Linked DNA regions of Homo sapiens: regions 1, 2, 3, 4, 6 and 7 are each linked to region 5. The links are contacts of gene promoters, found by promoter capture Hi-C in blood cells and fetal thymus (Javierre and others, 2016). All regions are on one chromosome and are shown on one strand. Each heading gives the region's core, a stretch centred on a gene start or on the middle of the fragment in contact. The rest is flanking DNA. Distances are from core to core; before and after follow the strand shown. Region 1 overlaps PRDM16 (PR/SET domain 16). Region 2 overlaps PRDM16 (PR/SET domain 16). Region 3 overlaps PRDM16 (PR/SET domain 16). Region 4 overlaps PRDM16 (PR/SET domain 16). Region 5 holds the start of ACTRT2 (actin related protein T2). Region 6 has its middle 4.4 kb from the start of ARHGEF16. Region 7 overlaps PRDM16 (PR/SET domain 16).

Region 1 (3,512 bases), core at 469-2,968, 340 kb before region 5:
TCTGTCCCCTCCTCCAGCTCTCTGCAGATGATGACTTTACTTTTACGTTAAGTTGCTTTTGTTTAGTCTTCCTCTCTAAACAACAACTACTTTTAAATGATTTTTTAAAGTACAAAGAGTTAGTTTGATTCTTCCTCAAATGCCTTCTTTTGAAGACAAGCTTGCCTTTTCGATTTCATATCCCATTTAATTAAAACAAAATATAACAGAATCATAACACTGAAAATCAGTGTACTCACTACCGGCTCCATTAATTCTTATCAGTATAAAACATACATTCAGAAGTGTAAGTGCTTTAAAATACACTCCTTCCACTCTTGCCAATATGTTCTATTTATACACGTAGTCTACAGCGGGGAAGAAGTTCTCCTTGTGAACCTAGGGAACCACAGGACCGCACGTGTTTTTGGACAATGGACGCTTGAGCCCGGCACTTTTGAGAGCTGTTGGGCCGGCAGCTGTCACATTCCAGCCACTCCCCAAAAGCCATTTGGCTGTGGGTGCGTTAGGCCTGGGATCAGCTGAAAGGTAGCATCTAGGGGTGTCCCCACCTGGCTCAACCACAGCAAAGAGCTTGAATTCAACTTTCCTCTGCCAGACAAGACCCCTCCCAAGTCACGTCTGCCATGAAACCCGCACACGCTTCCTGTCCAAATGGAGCAGAGACCTCCCCATGGCAGTTATGTTCTTGAGCCGCAAACACTAAAGATGCTTGCTCCATCAATTTTTTTTTTTTTGAGACAGAGCTTTGCTCTTGTTGCCCAGGCCAGGCTGGAGTGCAATGGTGCCATCTCGGCTCGCTGCAACCTTTGCTTCCCGGGTTCAAGAGATTCTCCTGCCTCAGCCTCCCCAGGAGCCGAAATTACAGTGGTCCAACACCACGCCCGGGTAATTTTTTGTATTTTTCGTAGAGATGACGTTTCACCATGTTGGCCAGACTGGTCTCGAACTCCTGACCTCAGGTGATCCACCGGCCTCGGCCTCCCAGAGTGATGGGATTACAGGCGTGAGCCACTGTGCCCGGCCCTTGCTCCATCTTTAACCGGTCGTCAGCATCCTGAAAACAAAGCCTAGCAAAACAAAACACGCACGTGCAGCCCCCTCACTCCCCGGGATGCTACAAAGTTCTCTTTGTGCACTACAGACCGGGTAGACTGACGTGGTGTTCACAGACACGGTTACAGCCTGATGTTATGCAATAGCATGTTAACCACACATTCTAGTAAAAAAATAAAATAAATAATAATAAACATTTGACCTAGAGTAGAGATCTTTCACGAGACGCCCTAATCATTTTTCTGCTCCGACCTCAGTTTTTTCTGGAACTGCTCCAGCAAGCCCAGGGTGGTGCGACGGCCTTTTTCTCTCTGGGAACAAAAGGTCTTTTTTAGTCCTCAGGGCTGTCAAGATTATCCAAATATTCTCAGCTTACTACTAGCCCCTTTCTGAATTGATATTTCCAATAAAAGGACACTTTGTATCTTTAAGCCACACTGGCCCCCGGAGCAGGCTACGGAGGCTGGGAGGCCCGCTGCACAGCCCTGGTCGGCACAGCCTGGGAGATGGGTGGGAAGAGAGTGTCCCGGCATACTGAGCGCGAACAGGCATGGAGGGCCCAGGGCAGGGGACACGGCCGTCCACTTGAGGGGAGAAGGCAGAACCCACAGAGAGTGCGTGCCTTCCCGTCAGGACATCAGCGCGTCCCGGAGTCCTGCTGCACTGGGTCTGATTTTGGCCAAGCCTGTCTAGTCTGCGAGCGGCCGCCAAGCGCATTAAGTCATGGTCGTGCTCAGTGGCAGGAAAGAATTCATTCCAGCCGGACCAAGCTGTGCGAAGCCTGTGTTCTCCGGCTGTCGGCACATCGGGGCGCTAGAGCCCCCCTGAGCCACAGGTCAAGGGTTATTTCTTAGCCTCACCTCTTCGCCATCTTCCCAGACCCTCCCTGGCCCCACAGGCCAGTTCTGTGCGTATGTGGCATGAACATGTATGTGTATGTGTGTGTGCGTGCGCGTATGTGTGCATGTTTGTGTGCGTGTGTGCGTGTGTGTGCATGTGTGCATGCGTGTGCGTTTGTGTGCATGTGTGCGTGTGTGTATGTGTGCATGTGTGTGCACGTGCATCCCTGCGCACATAAACACGTGCAGCTGACAGCCTTCAAAGTCGTCCCTGCAGCCCCACAAAGGGCATTTCCTTCCACCCCAACCTCCTCCAAACGGCTCTGATTAGCACAAATGATAATTCTCATTAATCACCTTTGGCTGCTGCAGAATGGAAACGAGGCCGCGGCGAGGTGACGGGAGCCACTTAGGCGGGATTTATGACCTGTGTGTGCAGTGGCAGCTTCAGGGCCTGACACCTCTGCCTGCAGCTAACATTCAGGGCCGCTGGCTGCCTAGCACAGAGCCCCCAGTATTCCCTCTCCTTGTCTGTTGGCTGACTCTGGGGGCACCACCAACCCCATGGATCACCCCATGGTCCAGAGCTCTTTCAGGTCCTGTGGTGGAATACAGTGGGGCTTTGGGGTGTGGGCCTGCCCAATATAAGGAGGAAGAGGCGGGAGGGAGCACTTGTATTGGCCAGGAGGTCCCCTCCTCACTGCCTCTCCTTCCTTCCCAAACCCAGCCACACGCGCCTTTCCTCTTCCTGACCCTCAGGGGCAGGGACAGCCCCCAGCCCAGGGGTGGGGAACCAGATCTGGCACACGTGTGACACACAGTAGGTGCTTGGTAGGGGTTTGTTGGTGCCACAGCAGGCTGAGTGTGTGGCAGAGGAGGACGGCGGCACAGGGCGCCCAGGGTCACTGCGCCCACCCAAGGCCCCCTGGGCACTGCCAAGCTCCAGGCGGGGGGCCATGCGACCCGACTCCCACTTTCCTGAACAGACCCAAAAGGAACCCACAGTGCCAGCTCCAGGTTGCTGCCCTCGCCCACTGGCCGAGTGGGTCCCTGGCTCAGAGAAACCTATTTTCTCCTGGGGACCCTGGTGCCTTCCCTTCCTTTGCATCCCCTGGGAGGAAACTTCAGGGGCCCAGCACTGGGTAAGGCTTTCCCAGGCTGCACGAGGGAATGAGGGACGGCGTACACACACAGCCCTGGCAGCGTGCAGAAGGCAGCGCTCGCCAGGTGGGAACAGCAGCACCCAGAAACCACAGGGTCCCCGAAAACATGCTGCTTCCTTCCGAAGCAACGTGTCCTGCTCGGGGCACCTGGCTGAGGCTGCGCGGGCCCATGTTGGGCCTCTGGGCCTCCTGGCCCGGCCATGAAAATTAAAGCTTTGCTCTGCCTCTGGTTTCCATAAGGCCCGCCTGTCCCCCGCGCAGCTGAGTGGGGGAGGAAGTCACTGCCCGGCAGCAAATAACTATGCTGCTGTCCAGCCTGCTTTAATTTTGCCCTTGCACCAGGGGGCCACGTGCAGGAGCCCAGGGTCATTACTAGGCTGTTGCCGGGGGTGAGGGGCTGAGCGGTGGGAATCCTGGATGTGGACGGCTCAGTGGAGGCCTGGGTTGGAATGGA
Region 2 (3,265 bases), core at 308-2,807, 410 kb before region 5:
AGCCGGGAGCCCTGGAGGGCTCTCTGGGATCTGGAGAGTGAGGGCCCAAAGCCTGCTGTGAGCAGTCTGAATGCACCAGGACAAGCTTGCTTCGGAGCCTGTGGGGGGACTCTTCTGCAGCCCAGGGCTCTCCTGACTTCCCTCAGGGTCACTGCAGCCCGGCAGGACCCCTCCACTCCGGTTCCTCAGTATTAAATAAAAAAGAACAAAGCGTGCATGGGTGTGGCTGGGCATTCTCATTTCTTTCAGGAAGAGCCACTAGAGTTTGGCTCATCTTCATGTTCACGACCAAGAGCTGTGTCTTGGGTGGGCTGGGCCCCAGGGGAGCTGAGGGCCCCCGGGCACATGCTGGACATACTGGTAGAGGGGCCCAAGCAAAGGGCAGGGCACGCAGTTTCTGGACTGCCCATGCCCAGAGCCCCAGGGCCACTCTTCCTTGTCCTCACTCCGCCCGGGGGCACTGCCTCCCGCTGCCCTGGGAGGTATCCACGGTGTGGGTGAGATGCAGGGGTCCTGCTCTTGGCATCCAAGCAAGAAAGTGACAGCGTCTCACGGCGACCGACCTCCGTGTCTCGGACTCGCCTGTGTGCACGGGAACTGGGCTTGGGGAGGCCACAATTTCCTGGCTCTCCACAGATGGGCCACGTGTCTATCTCTTGTCTTTCTGCCTTCCAGGACGGACAGAACCTCACCAGGTTTCAGGGCTTGAGGAGAGTTCCTCGGTCCTGGTCGCCTGTGTTGGGGGCCAAGAGCGTCCTGTACACACACCCATCTCCTCAGCCACGGAGCTGCTGGGATCCGGGTCCTGGTTCTCACCCTGGTTGTTGGTGAGGTGCCCTCGGGTGGGGTTCTGTCTTTGGGGCCTGTGCCCTCTCGATGACACGAGGACATACCCCTCCCTGTCCACTCTGAGGACGGGATGAGATGGCGCAGGGTGAGAGCCCAGGCTCATCACATGGGCATGTGCTGTGAGATCTCATCTGGTGGCCCCACGTGGGTTTGCATGGGCTTCCCACCAGCTGGGGGCAGGGACTTTGCCCTCTTTATGTCTGCTGCACACCCCCCATGCACAGAGTATTTGCTTTTTAGTGTTGGGGAGCGGAGCATCCGGCACGGACACAGAATAGGGCCCAGTGGCTGGTTTGGCTCCAACAGGGAGGACAGTCAGTTTCCCAGAGCTGCCCAAACCAAGCCCCACAGAATGGGGGCCTGAAGCAACAGCCGTGGACGCTTTCACAGCTCTGAGGCCAGAAGTCCAAGATCCAGGCGAGGGCAGGCCGGGTTCCTTCCAAGACTCTGGGGGAGAATCTGTCCCTGGTCTCTCTCCAGCTCCCGCTGCTGCCGGCCCTCTTTGGCCATCCTTGGCAAACCTTGGCACTCTTCGGCCCTCCTATGTGACCCTTGGCCCTCCTTGGCCATCCTTGGTGACCTTTGTCCCTCTTAGGTGACCCTTGGCTGGGAGGCGCATCACCCTGACCTCTGTCTCCATTTTCCCTTGGCCTTCTCCCCTGCGTGATTTTCTCCAAGTGCCCCCTTTTTAAGAGGCCGTCAGTGCCGCTGGATTGGGGCCCACTCTACCCAGTGTGGCCTCTGCTTAATCCCTCCTTAAAGACCTTATCTCCTAAGAGAGTCCCATTCTGAGGTACCGGGGGCTGGGACTTCCACCTGGGAATGCTGAGGGACATGATTCAACTCAGGGGTTCACGGGGCTGCAGGACCAGGACTCCTGACAGAACTGGATCCTTCCTGATGGCGGAGGGCAGGAGCTGGTTCTGCAGGAGGCCCAGGGAACGTTCCCGCCACCCCAGGGACTGGCTGCCTATGTCCACCTTGCCCTGTTCTCATTTTCGTCAGTGACGCAGGGGCTCTCAGGACCAGGCCAGCTGGACCCGGGGACCTTGCCTCAGCAGGACGGGTCTTCCGAGGGCCTGAGTCTGAGTCCGTCTGAGGCCGGCTGTGCCCGTATGTTCTGAGGTGTGGAGAGCCTCCCTCGTCCCCACCCCTAGGGCTGTGAGAAGCAGGGCACTGTGGGCCTTGCCATAGGCGAGGGGGAGGCCCGGCCACATCTCTTTCTCTTAGAGACAGCCTTCTGTCCTGGTGGGTCTCCTGCAGTGCGGCCGGGCTGCACCCTAGCTCGGGGTCCTGGTGGGTCTCCTGCAGCGCGGCCGGGCTGCACCCTAGCTCGGGGTCCTGGTGGGTCTCCTGCAGTGCGGCCGGGCTGCACCCTAGCTCGGGGTCCTGGTGGGTCTCCTGCAGTGCGGCCGGGCTGCACCCTAGCTCGGGGTAGGGGGGCCTTGCTGTCCTCCAGGTGGTTCAGCCTCCGCACACGCTCCTGGTCCTGGGCCCACCCCGGCAAGGATGCCATTGATGAATCCTCACTTGTTCCTCGCCTGGCCTTACTCTGGGAGCTGCAGCTTAGGGGATTGTGCCTGGGGACGGGGCTGTGGGGCGTAGGTAAGGCCTGGCCTGTGGCGCTCATGGGTCTGACACGCAGCTGCAGGGAACACGAACAGCTCCCATGCGGCTGTCTCAGCGTGGCCAGGGCAGAGTTCCTTTCAGGCCATCGTTCCTGGAGCCCACTGGGGAATGCCGGGACAGCCTGGGGGCTGCAGAGTAGGTGGGGTTGCACTGGGGTGGAGGTGAGGCTTTTGGGACCACGGCCCAGAGCCAGCTTCTCCCCCCGCCCCTTCCTCTGAGCCCGCTCTGGGCTCTGATGGATGAAGATGCTGAGGGCCCTACAGGTGAGCTCACCTTCCTAGGAGGGGCACAGATTTGGAACGTGGCTTTGCCAGAGCCAGTGTCCAACTGCCTCCTGTGTTTATTGCTTGGATGCCTCTTTCCCAGGTACCCCCACTCTCCTAGAAGCAATGACAGGAAGACGCAGCCCTGCCCTGGAGGAGGGGATGGGCTCTGAGGGAGCTGGGGTCTCAGGGGGCTTCTTCTTCACCTACTGGAGGTGGTGGGGAGTGAGCTGGGCCCTGTGGGTACAGAGCCTTAGACCGCCCATGGCCAGTGCGGTAAAAGCTTGGGATCTGGCTCTAGGTTCTGGGCCTGAGCAAGACACCCCACTTCTGTGGGCCCCGTTTTCCCTTCTGTAGAATCAGGGGATCACCCCCTCAGGCCTCTTGGAGTTTGGAACACCTTCGGTTCTCTGCCAGCTGGCTGGTGTTAGCTTTCACAAAGGAAGCAGCCCCGCTGGGGTGTCTGAAGGCTCCCCCAGAGTAAGTGAGGCCTACGGAGCCCTGGTATCCCAGGTTGCACAGAG
Region 3 (3,414 bases), core at 772-3,271, 380 kb before region 5:
CTACATTGCTCAGGCTGGTCTTGAACTCCTGGCCTCAGGTGATCTTCCTGCCTGGGCCGCCCAAAGTGTTGGGATTACAGGTGTGAGCCACCACCTGGCCCTTTCTTCTCACTCCGCTCACTCACTCCTTAAACAAACCCTGGCCTCTGGGCCTCTACGCTCACAGCTCCCTCCTGAGCCTCCTCCACAGGTGCCCAGGGCTCACTCTCCTTGTGTCTTTGCTGGAACGCCTCTCATCGAACAGGCAGTCTCAGCTCCCACACCAGGCTGCCAGCCTGGCCCCCTGTGAGGCTGTAACCCCACACCGCTGCACCCAGAGCTGTGCCTGCCACCTTGCTTGTCTGGCTTGCCTGTCTCCTCCCATTGGTGTGCGAGCCTCCTAAAGACAGCTGGTCTTTTATTCAGGGCTGGCCCCCGCACTGGAACAGCACTGGGCACAGACAGGGCCCCCTAGAGACACCGCCCTGACAATCCCAGTGGGTGTCTGCTGAGACTGTCACGTGCAGGGCAGCACAGAAGCACGCCCTTCTGGAGCTCGGCACAGGTGGGGAGTGAGTTCGGGGGACGGGAGTAGCAACAGGGAGGGAGGGTCCAGCTCCTTCTGCAGGACCCTGGTCCCTCCCATCACCCACTGCCCCCCTCCAGCCCCTGTGAGGTGAAGCAAGGGGAGCCGTGGAGGAGGACGGGATGGGGAAGGGGAGCAGTGAGGGACAAACTCAGAGGGTGCCTGCCGGGGACCAGGCTGCACGCGGCAGAGATGTCAGAACCTGCCATGAGTGCTTTATGAACAAACTGGGGCCCCTCGGATCGGGGGAGACCTTGGGGGATGGCCCACCTCGGCCCGACCGCCACGGCATCCGCGCACCCGGAGGGCAGGCGGCCAGGCTGGGCGACCACTCACATATGAAAGGCTTCACCGTGCTGTGGATATGCTTGTGCTGCTTGAGGCCGGAGGACGTGGCGAAGGTCTTCCCGCAGTCGGGGCAGGCGTGGGCCCGAGCGCCCACGTGCTGCGAGCGGATGTGCCGCTGAAGGTTGCTGGGGTCCGTGAACACCTGGGGAGACGGATGCCGTTGGCGCGTGCCCTGCCTGGACACCCGCCTTGGCCTGGTTCTGGCTGGCGGACCAACCGGCTGTGGGGGGCAGGGCCCTGCCTGTCTCTCTTGCCACGTTGCAGTCTGCACCAAGCAGGCCGGGACAGGTCTCTGTGTAGCAAGGACCCGCTGCAGGGCCTTAAGTGAGCCGCAGAGCCTCCCCGGCTGCTTTCCTCAAGAACAATTCCTGAACTGAGGCTGCGTGAGACAGGGCTGCAGAAAGCGTTTTCAGCTGTGGTGCTGAGACCCTGGCGGGCTCGGGGTGGAGGCTCGGCTCAGCCCCGCCAGCCTCTTCCTTCCACACCGGCGGGAGGACAGGAGCCGCGCTCTGGAGGGGCCTGGGTTCTGGTCTCGGCCCTGATCCTTCTGACCTGGGGGACACGGTCTTCCCTGAGACTTCCTTTCCTTCCTAGTCACACGGAAGGGCCCGAGCCACCGCAGGGGCCTCCTACCCACTCTGCCGCACTCCATCTACATTTGGACCAGGGGGTGTAGGGAGCACGGGGGCGGGCGCCCGTCTGCAGCCTCCTGCTGCCCCGGGGCTGAGACGGGGCCGCCCCGCAGGTTACCTTCACGCAGTTTTCACATTCGAAGCGTTTGCCGCTGTCGTGGGACATCTGGTGGCGGATGAGGTTGGACTTCCAGTTGAAGGCCTTGGGACACTGGTCGCATTTGTACTCGCGCTCCTCCGTGTGGATGACCATGTGCTGCTCCAGGCTGCGCAGAGGACGAGGCTCACTGCGGGGCCCGACTACCTGCCCTCTGCCCGGGAGGGGACCCCAACCATACAGCTTGTTCCCAGTGCCCCTTCGGAGCCCCCACCACGCTGCCGAGGGATCAGAGCACATGCTGGTGTCTCCCTGCCCACCTCCTCTCTGCCGTGGCCGGGCTGTGAGGGGCAGAGGCGGCCTTCCCCTAGCAGATGGGGAAGCCGGCACCTGGATGGTTCCATCCCTCACCCAAGACCACCCCCAGGGCGGCTGGAGGCAGTGCCGGACCCCGGCCCACACTCCCTGGGTGCCTCTCAAGCTGGTCCTGGCCTTGCAGCTAGGCTTGGGCCTAAGAAAAAAGGGGTTCAACACTGGCATGAACCCAGGAGTGGGGCAAGTCCCCCAAACCCAAGGATGCCCCTCTGAGTGCTGGGCACACACCGAGGACGCAGGTCGGGAGTCACTCGGGGGTCTCCAGGTGACACGGAGGGGACCCGAGCACAGCTGCTCGGAGGGGCCGCTGCACTTGGATGAAGGAGTCGCTCTAATTCCCTGCTCTTGGGGGACCCCCGGCTTCCCTTGTCCCAGGGATGACCGTTAATCTTCATGAGCAAAGCAGTGATATATCACGGCTCGTTAATTACGGGGCCCAGCCATCCATTCAGATCAGAAACGCCTGGTTCCCGAGCATCAGGAGACTGTATCTTTTCCCCCGTTGTTAATTGTGATTTATGTGTTTATGTAAAGAAAACACGGACCCTCTTGAGCGGCGTTTACTGGGAAGGGCCGCAGTTGGGATTTGCCCAAACGTTTATTTTCTCAGTCATCTGTTCCGGGTGGAGGGTTTGCCGTCCCCAGGGAGCGGTGCGGGGATGGGCGGTAATCCCCAGCAATCACATAGCCGGTTAGTGGCCTGATGGGCTTTGCTCTGACTTTGCGAGGCTGTCCTGGAGGAAATCCTCAAAGGCAGGAGGAGGGGCCCAGGTTGGAAAAGTCTCCATAGCTCCTTACAGCACTGGACTGAATGTCCTGGTTTCACTCCCCACAGAGACCAGGAATCTTGTCTTTCCCGGGGGCCACAGGTCCCCAAGGCCGCCCAGGCCCCAGATGCTGGCTCCTGCCTGGTCTCAGGGCAGGGGAGGGCCACCGTGGGCCCGCTCATGTCTCTGAAGCCCCTCCTGGGACAGTCCGCTGCCACCTGGTGGGGAGCAGGGCTGGTGCCTTGGGGATAGGGGTGACCCCTTCTGGCTCTTGCCTACCATCTGAGAAGGAGCTGCTCGTGTGTCCGGAGGGTGGGGCCACCATGAATCCCTTGGTGGTGGGTGCTGCCACCCCCATCCCGGTCTGGGACCTTATTACAGAAGTAGCCTTGGGCTTAGCGGCTGCAGGTCTGGGCTCTGGCCTGAGTTTTTCTCCTTTCTAGTTTCTCCCCGCAGCGCAGCCCTGGCAGGCAGGGCCATGAGCCTAGGAGGTGGCTTTCTGGGGCCAGGACATTTGCGGTCGGAGCCAGGGGACACCTGCGGCTCTGGCCACGGGATCCTGCACCTGCTCTGCCCGCAGCGCCAGTGTCCCAGAAGGGGCACATATCCCCAGGGTGTGTCCCACCAGGG
Region 4 (3,558 bases), core at 220-2,719, 360 kb before region 5:
CTGCTCTTATGTTTATGATTATTCTTTTGCTTCATCTCTGTATTTTTTTTTCAATCAGAAAAAGTTATTTTAAACATTTTTGGCTCTAACTGAAGGCCACGGAAGTCCTGGTAGTAGCGTAGATTCATGTCCCCATCCAGAACGAGCTTGTCCAGCGGAGCAACTGCTCGATGGAGATTCTGCTCCACAGCCAAGGGGACGGCAAATGAGGGAGAGCCCCTGGCAGCCAGCCGGGGCCTGCGGGACCTCCCTGGAGTTTGCTCTGTGCATTTCTTAATGCAAAATTGTTTCTGTAAAGTCGAGAGCCTTGAATCACTTTCAATGGCTTGCACAGGCTACGCGGGAATGTTCCGTGACGTGGTCTTCACACACATTTTTCACAGCCATGGGATCCTTTTCTTTTTTTTCAAATGAAATCTCATGTATGACCCCAAGATATTACAGGAAAAACCAGACTACTGTGATGTAAGGGGCCGGGGACCCCGGGCACCCCGGGCACCCCGAGGAACGCACGGTGTTCAGGATGCAGGCGGAAAGTGCCGCCCGGGAGGCCTGGCTTGAGAGTGAGAAGGGCCTCCAGGGGCCACTCGCAAGCTTGAAATAGAGAAATCCATGAAGCAGCGACCAGCTCTGGGGACACGGTGCCTTCTGGAGTGGAAGGAGACTCCGCGTCTTCTCCCCTGATCAGCCTGTGGGTCTGGATGCCTGTTCTGGTGGTGGTGTGGACCAGCCGTGGAGGTCAAGGATCCAGGGAGCTTAGGGGGCTCCTCAGCCCCGAGGTGGCAGGGACGGAAGTGAAGGTATCTCTTGCCTGGTTCGCTGCCTGCAGGACAGGGACTTTGTGCCAAAAAGGCCAAGGCCTTCAGCAGGCTGGTCAGAGGCCCCGGAGGCTCTAGGAGGCCCCCCGAGTGGCTGCCTCATTGGCCGGTGCGGACTCTTCGGAAAATTTGGTGAAACAGCGCCATTTAGATGGATTCTTTCAGTGACTGTTCCTGCTCTATGCTTCTCCCGTGTCCTTCAGGGAAGCGGCATTTGCAGGAAGTGTGGACCCTGTGATCCGCGGTCCTGCCTGCTTCATTGCTCTTTTCCACCTGAACCACCATCTCGGGGTTCAGGAACTGCCAGCCTCAGGCAGGGTCCCTGAGCAAGGCTCCAATGGAGCCCTCCCGGGGTGAGTCAGCTCCCCGGAAGCCAGTGCTGGCCAAGCACCAAACAGCACCCCCACTGCAGGCCAGGGCTTGGCAGATGTCCCCAAAGAGGCTCAGACAACCCTTGCCTCGGCACCTCCACCAATCTTGGTGCCACATCCTCAGGGACAATTCCAAGAGGCAGAAGCCCCTGTTATGAGCCCGGACCTACCTGCTCACTGATCTGACACATGGTGAGGTTCTGGTCATCGCAGGAGCACGCCACACGGATGTACTTGAGCCAGCTGCCAGCCCCCGCCTGATTTGCATCCACGCAGAACTTCTCACTGCCCAGGTCTTCGGAGATCTGCTGGGAGGAAAGCGAAGCGGGAGTCAGAGGTGCCCTGTGTGCTGGAGTCTGCACACAGCCTCTGCCCACCCAGAAACCTGGCTGTTTGGGCTCAAGTAGGAAGGCAAGTCGGCGTCCAGACCTCAGCCCACCCTCCGGGCATCAGCGGGGCTCCCAGCCCACCCAGCCTGCCCATGCCCGGGAGTCTCCAGGAGTCTCCAGGAGCCCAGCAGAAAGGCAGGGAATGGCCTTTTCTTTTCTCACCGAGCAGATCACTGCCCTGGCCCGGCGATAAAATGAGCCTCCAGAGTTGCAACCCCCACCCCCGCAGCAAAGCTGACCCACGTGTGAGAAGGCAGGGACTGCTGCATCTGGGAGCAGAGCCCTCTGCTAAGGAGCTGGGACGCTGCGCTAGAGAAAAGCGTGTCTGAAGGTGAAGGTGTTGCTGGGTGTGCATGTGTGTGTGCATGCTCAGGGCAGCCTGCACATCACTCTGAGAGCAAGAAAAGCATCTGGTTTCCTTAAAGCTGGAGAGTTTCAGTTTGACACCCAGCAGCATGAAGACGCCTAGCTGTTCTCACCACGCCCGCAAAGTCACACGCGAACCAACTTGGCTTTGCTTTGTTGTCACTGTTGCCTCTGAACGGGCAGAGTGGCAACCCCTAGGACTTTTCTTATTTGCTGTGACCCCCACTCCTCCGAGGACCACCGATGAGGAGACCTGACCTGCTGTCCACTGTGGAGAGACGGTGTCCCCTCAAACAGCCTGACCATGGGTGGCGGCTGCAGGCCCCCCAGCCTCCCCCACTCTGGCCAGTAGCTACTCTGGGTTCTGAATTCAAACCAGCAGCATCTTGGGCAAGCTTCCTGGGCAGCCCAGCCCAGACAGGGCAGGAGGGAGGGCAGGGGGCAGGGGATGGGGCCACGCTACACTCAGGTCCCTAAAGTAGAAAGGCTATGTCTCTGTGGGCAGGAGTGCCCTTGGGCAGGTGTGTCCTGCTGGACAGGTGCATATGGGTGGGCAGGTGTGTCCTGCTGGACAGGTGTATGTGGGTGGGCAGCTGTGTCCTTGGGTGGGTGTGTCCTGGCAGGCAGGTGGGTCACGGTGGGCATATGTGTCCTTGTGGGCAGGCGTGTCCTTGAGCAGGTGTATCTGGGTGGGCAGGTGTGTTCCTGGACAGGTGTGTCCTTGGGCAAGTGTGTCCTTGGGCAGGTGTGTCCTGGTGGGCAAGTGTGTCCTTGGGCAGGTGTGTCCTTCTGCAGGTGTGTCCTGGTGGGCAGGTGTGTCCTTCTGCAGGTGTGTCCTGGTGGGCAGGTGTGTCCTTAGGCAGGTGTGTCTTTGAGCAGGTGTGTCTGGGCGGGCAGGGGTGATGGATAAGGGAGTCACAAGGACCCAGGGGAGTCAGGATGAGACAGTGACCTGTCCAAGTGAAAACAGTGGAGGCTGACTCTGGGCACCTCAGATGCTCGGCATGCACTCTCCCGGGTTCCTAGCCATTTCGGGCCTGGTGCTGGCTGACCCTCAGATGCTGGGCATGCACTCTCCTGGGTTCCTAGCCATCTCGGGCCTGGTGCTGGAATTCTTTTGAAAAGTTAAACGTCGGCACCAATCAATGGGGAAGCATGTGGTCCACGTGCCCCGGTCTCTGTGCATGGTGTTCCCTCTTCCCCTGAGGCTTCCAGGGAAAGTTGGCCCCCAGAGCACAGCAGAGACAGGCAGAGGGCCTCGAGTCTCTTTCCTGTTCCACTTGCTCTCAGTCTCCTTGTTGACATCCACCACCAAGCTGGGGTTCCCGACTAAGGGTTTCCAGAGGTGCTGGGTGAGATAGATTGGGGTGCAGGGCGGGAGGTCAGCCAGGATAGAGGGGCGTGCTCCTGGGGTCCCTGTGCTCCCTATCACACACAGCCGTGCCTGCCCCTGGGCCCCTTCTGGCTCCATCCAGGGCAGTGGGAGATTCACTCAAAGCCTGTCTTATTTCAGAGACGGCAGCGGCAGAAATGCTCCCAAGCTCGTGGGCTGTGGCTGCTCTGCTCCATTCACCAAGTGACTGTGACTGAATGGCCAGGTCCCTTCTCTGCCCA
Region 5 (3,574 bases), core at 196-2,695:
GCCAGGTGTTCCGGCATTGGTCCTTTATTGAACATCCTCCCAAAGCTGGGGCTAGGGTTCACCCCCCACGGTACCCAACGAGAAGCGGCCTTCAGAAGCATCTTCTCTGCACCACGGAGGTCCCAAACTCCTTGAAGTCTGCGGCGGTGACCCACATCTGCTTGAAGCTACTCAGAGAGGTGACGATGGAGGCTCCAATCCAGGTGGAGAACCACCGGTCGGGGGGAGCCGTGATCTTGATGGGGGTGTCCTTGGAGGCCAGCTGCTCCAGCTCCTTGAGAAGCCGGTCATCCAGCCCGTGGAACAGGGTAGTGCCCCCCGACAGCACAATCTCCCCAAAGAGGATCTTCTGGATGTCGGTATCACACTTGGTGATGCTGCTGGAGACCATATTCGAGAGCCCGGGGCTCTGGCTGCCCAGCTGCTGGGGCACGAACAGGGCCTCGGGCGCCTGGTGCAGCGGGTCCCCGAGGCTGATGATGTTCCCGTCGGGCAGCTTGTACTCCCTCAGGACCTCCTCCGGCCTCCGGGAAAGCTCCTTCTCGGGCTCCAAGGCCACGTAGCACAGCTTCTTTTTGATGTCGTCCACGAGACCCTTGTCCAGCTGGCAGGGGAAGGTGTGGCCGCTGGCCAGGAGCAGCTGCATGAGGAGCTCCGTGATGTCCCTGCCCGCCACGTGGAGCTTGGTGACTGCGTGGGGCAGGGAGTAACCCTCAAAGATGGGGACAGTGCAGGTGACCGCATCCCCGCTGTCCACCACCAGGCCCGTGACACAGGCAGAGGCGTAGAGAGCCAGCACCGCCTGGTCCGACAGGTAGAAAGCGGGCACGCCGAAGTTCTCGAACATGACTTCTGCCATCTTCTCACGGTTCTCCCTGGGGTTCAGGGAGGGCTCCGTTGCAAGCAGGGGCTGGTCGCTGGGTTTCACGCCTAGCTCCCACTCAAAGAGGTGCTTCCAGAGTCTCTCCACGTCATCCCACCCTGTGATCAGGCCACGCTCGAAAGGGGAGTGCAGCTGCAGGGCCTCCTGCTTGTACAGGGCCTCCTCCCCCACAAAGTACTTCTTCTGGTTGGCCTCTGCTGAGGGAGCCTGGAATTTCAGGTGCCCCACGATGGAGCTGACCATGTGCCGGGGTCCAAACTCCCCAGACAGGCCCGCTTTGCAGAACCCCGAGCCATTGTCAAAAATCACAGCCGGGGAGTCTAAAGCGTGCGGATTAAACATGCCCGCAGCCTTCCCTTCTCAGCCTCATCAAAATAAAGACCAGCCCTCCAGGGCCGCTTTGTGATGCAATAGGGGATCCCACAGCTCTTCCCACAGCTCTCGGGGTGTCTCAAGGCAGGGCTAGCACCGTGCCCGGGAGCCCTGCATCCTCAGCCGCAGGTCTGCTCTCCCTCCAGGTGGCCTGGGCCTGCTGAGGCCTCTTCCAGGGGGCCAGGGGGTTGTCTCCTAGGTAACAATCTAGCCAAGGCAACGATTGTCCTGAGCCTCAGAGGCCCTGGGGGTGGGGCTCTGAGTCCCCCATCCCCCACAGGGTGAGGTGAGAGAGAGAGAGAGAGACAAGTGCATCCTAGGGCGGTGCTGGACAAGCCTGTGGGCTGAGGCAGAGACTTAGCTTTAGAGTGGAGAGAAGCAGCCCAGCCTGCGTGCACCCTAGAAAACCAGCTTCTCTGGCCCCTGAGCTGCAACTTCTGGGGTGACAACACTTCCCTTTGCTAAGGGGGAAAACCAAGCACCAGGTCGGAGGGGTGTTGTAAGCAGTTCTGTCCCAGCAGGCACTTAGAATGTGCTTTTGAATAGTGATTCCCCCAGGAAGCTCTCAGGGATTTCTCCTCCCTCCATCCCATTAGTCCTGGCTGTCTGTCCCACTGGGTAGACCCTATTCAAAGCCCTCTGGGCTGCTGGCCCTTTGTCCAGGAATACATCTCTGCTCTGGCTTGAGGCCAGCACCCCTCATTCCTCTCTGCAGACTCTGAAGTGCCAGCACACAACAAAGTCCAGCAGCCATAGAGTTGGGAACCCAACAGCCCTGAAGATATGGCCTGCTGGTTTCACATGGGTAGCCTGGATTGCAGCCTGTGACACCTCTCTGTGTCTATGAGCTGCCACACAGTCAGGCCACAACCACAGAGCAATGCTCAGAGGTGACCAGGCCATTAAAGGTCAAGGCCTGAGCATGACCAGGAAGGAGGCACCGGGCCAGGCCAAGGGCACCCACAACAGTGCACGCCCGGCACTCAGACCCCCGCTTTGTCTTCCGCTTGGGGAGAAAGTGGGAGGGGATCCAACCTGGGAACCAGCTTCACTTTTTTCCTAAGGAGGTTGGAGGTGGCCTTGGAGAATGTGAGGTTTATTCTACCTCTCCTGTCATATCCACAATCATGCTCCAGCCCAGCTTGGCCCCCCAGAGTTCTCCCAGAGGACGCCTCCCGGGGTCACTCCCTTCCTGGAGCCCCTCAGCTCCTGCTGGTGGCCCCCTCTGTGTGTCCTGCCTGCCCTGCTGACCCACCAGCAGGCATTAATCCGATGGTGGTGTAGACACATGTTGTAGATGGGCAGTCTAGACACGTGGTACAGACATGTGGTGTAGACACGAGGTACAGACGCATATGGATGTGCCGTGTAGATGCATGGGATAGATGGGTGGTGTAGACACGCGCGGTACACTCGTTGTTGATGTGTGGTGTAGATGTGTCTTGTTGACACGTGGTTTTGTGGGCCCCACTAATCCCTGGGTGGTAGTCAACAAAAACTTGATTATTGAAGGATTTTCCTAGAGGGGACCCCCCCAGAGGGAAACTGAGTCAAAAGCGTGCCAGGGCAGGTGTGGCTCTTAAATCTCCATTTCTCTGGAAACTGTGGCAGCCACCACACAGCTTGCTTGCAGTCGTCTCAGAGACCCCGGGCTCCCTGAGGCAGTAGGTGTGGACGGAGGCACTGACCCATGGGCACGGCCTAGGGCCCTGAGGCCTCCTTCGAAACCTGTTGACCCAGACGCTGGAGCTCCTCCCTGCCCACATCAAGGTCACCCCGCAGGTCCTGCTGAAGGTCACCTGAGGCCTGTGCTGGGGGACACGGAGAGTGTCCCGGGGCAGGGGCAGGCACCATCCCGACCCTGCTCCTGTTCGATAGCAGGCACGGGCAGAGGGTGCCCCCCTTGAACGCCATCTTCCAGGGGCAGGCGCCATCCCAACCCCGCTCCTGTTCGATAGCGTGCACGGGCAAATGGTGCCCCCCTCGAAGGTCATCTTCCAGGCAGGTCCCAGGCTGCGAGGTGACTCATCCTCCAATGCCTTTCTGGCTGTCCCATGCAGCCACATTCACAACAGAAGGACCACCCTGCGCGGGAAGGGTTCCCTCCTCGCTGAACTAGGAGACCACAGGCGCCAGTCCTGGGAAATACAAGTGGGCCCATCCCTGCTGACCTGCACAACCTGGGGTCCTGGCAGAGGTGTGGCTGTCCACAAGGCTGGCCCTTTGAAGCCCTGGGACAGGATCTGGGAGGCTCTCTCCTGGCTCTGCAGAGGGGCAAGGTCCCTCTCAGTCACATGCCCTGCTGAGCACTGGCTCAAC
Region 6 (3,448 bases), core at 918-3,417, 430 kb before region 5:
AGGTCATTACTTCCCATTAAGCACCTACTATGTGCCAGCCTCATGCTGGGGGCCTTGCACGCGTCATCTTAGTGAATTCTTACAGAAAGCCCCTCAGATGCCCCCCGCTTAACTGAGAGGAGAAATGTTTTGCCCCTTGTTACCTGGCTGGTAAGTGGCCCAGCCACAGTTAGAGCCCAGGTCTGTCTGACGCCAAAGCCCAGGATCCCTAGTCATCATTAGGGACCATTTCTGGTTTACAAAGACATGCATATAGTATTTATATTTTTATATAAAAATATATAAAAGCAACCCCATGTATCTTCCCCAAATTGAGAATTTAAAACATGTCAGGTGTTTTGGCCATGACGAAGTAGTCGGTACCAGACTTGTCTGTCACCACAAACAACTCAAACATGGAACAAAAAATACGAGAAACAACTCTTTCTAACACTGGACAACAGGTGCAGAGACAGAAATTCCTGGAGAAAGAGGTAAATAAGCCTTTGGCCAAGAGAGGCTGGTGGCCTCACTGGGCTACAGGGGACAGAGTTGGGGAGCCAAGGAGGCCAAGGACTATGGAGAGAGTCCTGGAGAGAAGGCAGCAGTGCAGGGGAGCCCCGAAAGAGTCCTGGAGAGAAGGCAGCGACGTAGTGGAGCCCCCAAAATCCCCACAGGGGTCCACTTGAGCCTTTGGCTGAATACTGAACTGTGCATAAGCAGAGTAAGATCCCATGAAGCCAGGGACCAACAGCGACCAGGGAGCTCTGTGAGCAGAGTGACACCAGAGTTCATACCAGGCCAGGGGACGCTGGAACGTCAGCCACCAGGAAGGAAGCACCGTCGCTGACTATCCCTCGTTGACCTCAGCCGCTTGGGAGTCTGAGGTGGGAGGATCGCTTGAGCCTGGGGAGGACGAGTCTCCAGTGAGCTATGATCGAGCCAGTGTACTCCAGCCACTGTACCAAGACTCTGTCTCAAAAAAAGAATGTCTGAAAAATTTCCAAATGTGATAAAAACTTGTAGATCCACAGATCCAAGAACCTCAAAGCAATGGAGAATAAGTCCAAAGAAGTCAAAGCAGCATACGTACAAAGCAGACCCCACCACAGTACCTCATAATGAAATGGCTGAAAACCAGGGACAGAGGGAAAAAATCCTGACCACCCAGAATATTCAGTAGATACCAAAGAAGGCCATGTCCTAGGTGAAGGGCTGAAGTAATCCTAGGGTGACAGCTCCTCTAGACATGACCTAACAGAAGTTCAAAGCAAGTCCTGAGAGGACCAGGCTGATCCACAAGTACGTTAACTGTGCATCAGCATAACACTCAACATGCTTGAAAAGAAGGCCAGTAAAATCCAGAAACTCAAACAATTTGACATTTACGACCTCCAGCACCCAATGCAAAATTACACATTTACAACCTCCAGCACCCAATGCAAAATTACACATTTACGACCTCCAGCACCCAATGCAAAATTACACATTTACGACCTCCAGCACCCAATGCAAAATTACACATTTACGACCTCCAGCACCCAATGCAAAATTACTAGACATGTGAAGAAGCAGGAACAGGAACCTGTGACAAATAACTAGGAAAAAAATCAGTCAGTAGAAGCAGACCCAGAAATGACACGGATGACAGGATTCGCAGAGAAGGCATTTAAAACAACAATCAAAAATACCCCAAAGGATCAGCTGGGCATGGTGCCGCATGCCTGTAATCCCAGCACTTGGGAAGGCTGAGATGGTGAGTTGCTTGAGTCCAGGAGTTCAAGACCAGCCTGGGCAACGTGGTGAAACCCCATCTCTACAAAAAATACAAAAAATTAGCTAGGTGAGCTACTCAGGAGACTGGGGTGGGAGGATCACTTGAGCCCAGGATTTGGAGGCTGCAGTGAGCTGAGCTCGCACCACTGCCCTCCAGCCTGGGCAACAGAGCCAGACCCTGTCTCTCTCTCTCTATACACACACACACACACACACACACACGCGGACACACACGGACACACATATACACACACACACATATATATAATATATACACACACACCACCCAAGGATTTATAGGAAACGATGATCACAGTCAAAGGAGAGATGGAAAGTATAATAATGAATCAAATGGAAATCCTAAAGATGAAAATATACAGTGTAGGAAACAAAAAATCTATTGGATGAGATTAACAGCAGATGAAACTACAGAGGAAAACAATCAGTAAACTTGAAGCCAGGACAAGTTACTCAGACTGAAGCACGCAGAGGAAAAACCTAGGGAAAAGGCAGAAACCGAGCCTTGCCCACCTTGAGACGGTATCAGGCATCAGGCAGTCTAACAATATGTGTAACTGGAGGACCAGAAAGGAGGGAGTGGGGAGGGAAGAACATATGTTTAAAGCAATGGCTGGGTACAGTGGCTCACGCCTGTAATCCCAGAACTTTGCATGACTGAGGCGGGCGGATCACTTGAGGCCAGAAGTTCGAGACAAGCCTGGGCAACATGGTGAAACCCTGTCTCTACTAAAAGTACAAAAATTAGCCAGGCATGGTGGTGCATGCCTATAGTCCCAGCTACTTGGGAGGCTGAGGTGGGAGGATTGCTTGAGCCCAGGGAGGTCGAGGCTCCAGTGAGCTGTGATTGAACCACTGTACTCCAGCCTGGGTGACAGACCAAGACTCTGTCTTATTAAAAAAAAAAAAAAAGGAAGAATGGCTGAAAATTTTTCAGATGTAATAAAAACTCATAGATCCACAGAATCAAGGACCTTAAAATGAAGTAGAATAAGTACAAAGATGTCAAGGCAGCATACGTACAAAGCAGACCACACCAAGGTACCTCATAATGAAATGGCTGAAAACCAGTGACAGAGGGAAAAATCGTAAGGGAATAAAGACCAAAATAACTGCTGGCTTGTCATCAGAAACACTGAAAGCTGAGAGAACTACAACAACATCTTTAAAGTGCTGAAAGAAAACAAAACTGTCAACCAAGATGTCCATTTCTCTTGAAAATATCCTTCAAAAATGAAAGGAAAATAAAGACATGTTAAGGCAAACGCTGAGAAAATTCATCACCAGTAGACCCACACTATAAGAAATGTCACAGGAATTTTTTCAGGCGAAAGGAAAATGATACCAGATATAAATTCAGGTCTGCACAAGGAGTAGAAACCCACTGGAAATGGCAAATATGTCAATAAATGTGAGAGGCTTTTTTTCTGTGCTTCAAAACATTCCTTTTTTTTTTTTTTTTTTAAATGGAGTCTCACTCTGTCGCCCAGACTGGAGTGTAGTGGCACGATCTCAGCTCACTGCAACCTCCACTTCTTGGGTTCAAGTGATCCTCCTGCCTCAGCCTCCCCAGTAGCTGGGACTACAAGCACACACCACCATGCCTGGCTAATTTTTGTATCTTTTTAGTAGAGATGGGGTTTCACCATTTTGGCCAGGCTGGTCTTGAACTCTT
Region 7 (3,378 bases), core at 833-3,332, 280 kb before region 5:
CCCAAGGATTAAAGAGCCCACGGCCTCCTGCGCTCCCCAGCACATCCCTCAGAAGGCACAGAGTCCCAGTGAGATGCACCGCACCCCACAGGATGGCTGCGGTCCGAAAGACAGGCGGGCGTCTGCAAGGATGTGGGGAAGTTAGGACCCTCACACTACTGGTGGGAATGTGAACCGGTGCAGCCGCCATGGAGAACAGTCTGACAGTTCCTCAAAAAGTTAAACAAAGCCATTGGATGACCTGGTAATGCCATTCCTAAGAATACGGCCAAGAGTAATGAAGATGTCTCTCGACACAAACACTTGTCTTGGGACGGTCACCACGGCACTCTTCCCAACGGCGAAAGGCAACCAAATGTCCATTAGTGGACATTTGGACGCAGACAGAAAATGTGGGTTTCATGCAATGGAATATTATTGGGCCATAAAAAGGAGTGGGAGACTGACGCGTGTTCACCGTGGCAAAACCTCAGAAACCCTATGCTGAGCAGAGAAGCCAGGTCCTGAGGATGGCACATTGTATAGTCCCACTTACAGGAAATGTCTGGAAGAGGCAAATCCACAGAGACAGAGAGGACATTCATGATTACCAGGGGCTGGGGGGAGAGGAGAAACTGGGAGGGGCTGCTAATGGTCAGAGGTTTCTTTCTGGGGGGATGGAAATGCTCTAAGATTAGACAGTGGTGTGGTGTGCCACTCTGTGACCAAAAACTAACACTTCCAAAGGGAAAATTATATGGTATGTGAATTACGTCTCAGTAAAACTGACATATATGTATTATAAAGCTGATATATATAAGTGTATATATCAATAAAACTGATATATATTATATAGGTTTTTATTTATACAGTTGAGCCTCATTATACCCAGATTTTATATTCCTGAATTTGCCTACTTGCTAAGATGTCTTTGTGACCCCCAAATCAATACATGAAGTGCACCCAAGGCCATTCCTGGACTTGCACCGAGGGGTGAAGGACCCGGGTTGTCTGGCATGTGTGCTCCCAGCTGGGGTCTTCTCCACCCTCTTGTCTCAGCTCTCGCACTGTGACCAGGTGTTCTTTCTAGTCTACTTAGTGCCATGTTTTCCACGTTTGGTTTTTTTGTGGCCGATTTCACTGTTTAAAATGGCCCCACGCACAGTGCTAAAGTGTTGTCTGCAGTTCCCAGGCACAGAGAGGCTGCAAGGTGCCTGATGTAGAATTACATGTCTTAGGGCAGCTTGGTTCAGGCTGAGTTACAGTGAGGATGGCTCGACAATGTATCCAGGCACACCTCATTTCATTGAGCTTCTCTTTACTGTGCTTTGCAATATTGCATTTTTTTTTTAACAAATGGATACTTTGTGGCAACAATGGATACTTTGGGGCAACCCTGAATCCAACAAGTCTACTGGTGCCATTCTTCTAACAGCAGGTGCTTACTGCATGCCACCGTCACCTTTTTTTTGGCAACAAAGTACTTGTAAATTAAAGTATCTACACTGTTTTTAGGCACCATATATTGCACACTGCACATACTACGGTATGGTAGACCAAAACATTTGCGTCACTGGCTTTGTTGCAATATTTACTTCATTGTGATGATCTGGAACCAACCCCGGGAAATCTCGGAGACGCCTGTGTTAGATAAGGGGTTTCTAAGCAGAACCACATGTAGAATAAGGTTGTTTATTGACCAGTAGATGAAAATGTGACCAGAAGCTTGCAGGAACCTAACACAGTATCTCTCCTAGGAGCAACAGTTTAGGACCTGCTAATTCAGCATTCCTGGCAACTGCATAGAAGAGAACTGCAGCTGAGCATAATGAGAATGAACCGTCTACTTATATCAACAGAACAAACTGCACTCTCATGTAGCCAAAAGGCCCTCCAAATTCTGCTGGAGCTAAGTCAGCAGTCCCCCGGTGACCAACACGCGCCAGATGGATTTCCACGGGAAGGGCCTCAAACAGGGGGCGTCAGGAGATACTTCCACAGAATCCAATGGCTGGGAGCTCCTCTGGAGGCCTGGAGCACACAGGAAAACACAGAATGTGGCTCAGGTGTGGTGTGTGCCCCTGTGTGCCTGGGTACACCCTGGATGTCTGGGCCAGCTTGGGACAGTGGCTTTGCTTGGGGTTAGTAACAAGCCAACAGACACAGAGCAAAATCCAGTTTTCTGGCCAGACCTTCTCTATCCCCTGTCCTGCCCACCGGACGTTTTTCGAGCCCTGGACACAGTCTGTAGTTGGGTCTTACAGAGCCCTTGCTAAAGGAAGCTGGGCTCCGCCAGAGGTGTCAGCCTCAGCACTGGGTCACCGAGACGTCTTCTTTTAAAAATACAAAGACAACCAAGGGTTTAATAAAGGAGTCACTTAAAATGACCAAATCTAACATCCCCTTTTCTCTAAAGCACATATCCCCAACTACAAATGCATTTATTGGCTTTTCATTTATTCATTTGTTTGGCAAGCTTTCTTTTCCTCCTTCCTTCCTTTTTTTTTTTCTTTTTTTTTTTTTTTTTGAGATGGGATCTTGCTCTGTTGCCCAGGCTGGAGGGCAGTGGTGCAATATCACAGCTCACTGCAGCCTTGACCTCCAGAACTCAAGCAATCCTCCAACCTCAGCCTCCTGAGTAGCTAGGACTACAGGTACATGCCATCACATCCAGCTAATTTTTAATTTTTTTGTAGAGACAGGGTCTTGCTAGGTTTCCCAGGTGGGTCTCAAACTCCTGGACTCAAGCAATCTGCCCTCTTTATCCTCCCAAAGTGTTGGGATTACAGGTATGAGCCACTGTGCCCGGCCCAAACATTTCTTGAACCTCACTTCATGTCAGGTTTGGTGGGGTCAAGGAGTGCAGCCTTGCACTTGACAAGCTCCCTTGGTGGAGACGAGAAAACGGGGACTGCCTTCCAGGTGATAAGTGCCAAAAGCAAACAGATAACACCACAGCGAGGGTGATAGCAAGTCTTCATTCGTGGTGCTGAAGGACAAAAGTCTGGGTCTGGGATCTAAGCGGTTGAAGGAAGATATTTCCATACACGGTTGCTCAGCTCTTGCTCAATGGGTAGAGTAACTGACTTCACACACATAAATGGGGTTCGGGGGGATGGTACAAGGTGGAAAAGACAAATAATAACAAAGAGAAATGAAAGGAAATGCTAACAATGATGCGTGGATCTTGGTAGAGTCAGACACCGGCAGAATCCATTTTCCCTGGCACAAACGCACCCCAGTTGCACCGCGGTTCCGAGGCTCCAGGGAACGAAGAATTGCTGGAGGAGGAGATGTGCTCCTGAGGCTGGAAAACCATGACTGGGATCGGAAACATCACGGCCACAGCACATCATCTTCAACCAGGGCAGAGCCACCACGACTGGGATTGGAAACATC

What was found. Contacts are between HindIII fragments. The CHiCAGO score rates a contact against its expected background, and 5 or more counts as called.
Region 1: a contact is called between a fragment that was not itself captured here and the fragment with the promoter of ACTRT2 in region 5, in 6 of 17 cell types (megakaryocytes, M1 macrophages, M0 macrophages and 3 more). The highest score is 9.0, in megakaryocytes.
Region 2: a fragment that was not itself captured here is called in contact with the fragment with the promoter of ACTRT2 in region 5 in 14 of 17 cell types (M0 macrophages, megakaryocytes, M1 macrophages and 11 more); the score reaches 33.8 in M0 macrophages.
Region 3: a contact is called between a fragment that was not itself captured here and the fragment with the promoter of ACTRT2 in region 5, in 7 of 17 cell types (megakaryocytes, M0 macrophages, M2 macrophages and 4 more). The highest score is 12.9, in megakaryocytes.
Region 4: a contact is called between a fragment that was not itself captured here and the fragment with the promoter of ACTRT2 in region 5, in 1 of 17 cell types (megakaryocytes). The highest score is 7.1, in megakaryocytes.
Region 6: a fragment that was not itself captured here is called in contact with the fragment with the promoter of ACTRT2 in region 5 in 3 of 17 cell types (M0 macrophages, M2 macrophages and M1 macrophages); the score reaches 6.4 in M0 macrophages.
Region 7: a contact is called between a fragment that was not itself captured here and the fragment with the promoter of ACTRT2 in region 5, in 1 of 17 cell types (fetal thymus). The highest score is 5.0, in fetal thymus.

What each region holds. Positions count from the first base shown.
Region 1 is chr1:3,364,500-3,368,011 of GRCh38, reverse strand. All of the region lies in intron 3 of PRDM16 (PR/SET domain 16), which reads right to left. Among named protein-coding and RNA genes, the nearest start is that of ARHGEF16, 88 kb to the left of the region's middle. The HindIII fragment of the contact is 3,111 bases long and covers 163-3,273 here.
Region 2 is chr1:3,427,167-3,430,431 of GRCh38, reverse strand. The region is part of intron 14 of PRDM16 (PR/SET domain 16); the gene reads right to left. Among named protein-coding and RNA genes, the nearest start is that of ARHGEF16, 26 kb to the left of the region's middle. The HindIII fragment of the contact is 2,939 bases long and covers 88-3,026 here.
Region 3 is chr1:3,403,136-3,406,549 of GRCh38, reverse strand. It overlaps PRDM16 (PR/SET domain 16), which reads right to left. Exons shown (of 17, transcript NM_022114.4): 7 at 1,664-1,811; 8 at 902-1,055. Among named protein-coding and RNA genes, the nearest start is that of ARHGEF16, 50 kb to the left of the region's middle. RefSeq lists an enhancer at 2,487-2,987. The HindIII fragment of the contact is 6,765 bases long and covers 1-3,414 here.
Region 4 is chr1:3,383,088-3,386,645 of GRCh38, reverse strand. It overlaps PRDM16 (PR/SET domain 16), which reads right to left. Exons shown (of 17, transcript NM_022114.4): 4 at 1,360-1,494. Among named protein-coding and RNA genes, the nearest start is that of ARHGEF16, 70 kb to the left of the region's middle. The HindIII fragment of the contact is 1,745 bases long and covers 597-2,341 here.
Region 5 is chr1:3,019,338-3,022,911 of GRCh38, reverse strand. It overlaps ACTRT2 (actin related protein T2), which reads right to left and starts at 1,445. Exons shown (of 1, transcript NM_080431.5): 1 at 9-1,445. The coding sequence starts at 1,225. The coding sequence ends at 92. The HindIII fragment of the contact is 17,158 bases long and covers 1-3,574 here.
Region 6 is chr1:3,448,542-3,451,989 of GRCh38, reverse strand. No RefSeq gene overlaps it. Among named protein-coding and RNA genes, the nearest start is that of ARHGEF16, 4.4 kb to the left of the region's middle. The HindIII fragment of the contact is 5,295 bases long and covers 1-3,448 here.
Region 7 is chr1:3,300,461-3,303,838 of GRCh38, reverse strand. The region is part of intron 3 of PRDM16 (PR/SET domain 16); the gene reads right to left. Among named protein-coding and RNA genes, the nearest start is that of ARHGEF16, 150 kb to the left of the region's middle. RefSeq lists a cis regulatory region at 406 and enhancers at 322-491, 3,334-3,378. The HindIII fragment of the contact is 751 bases long and covers 1,707-2,457 here.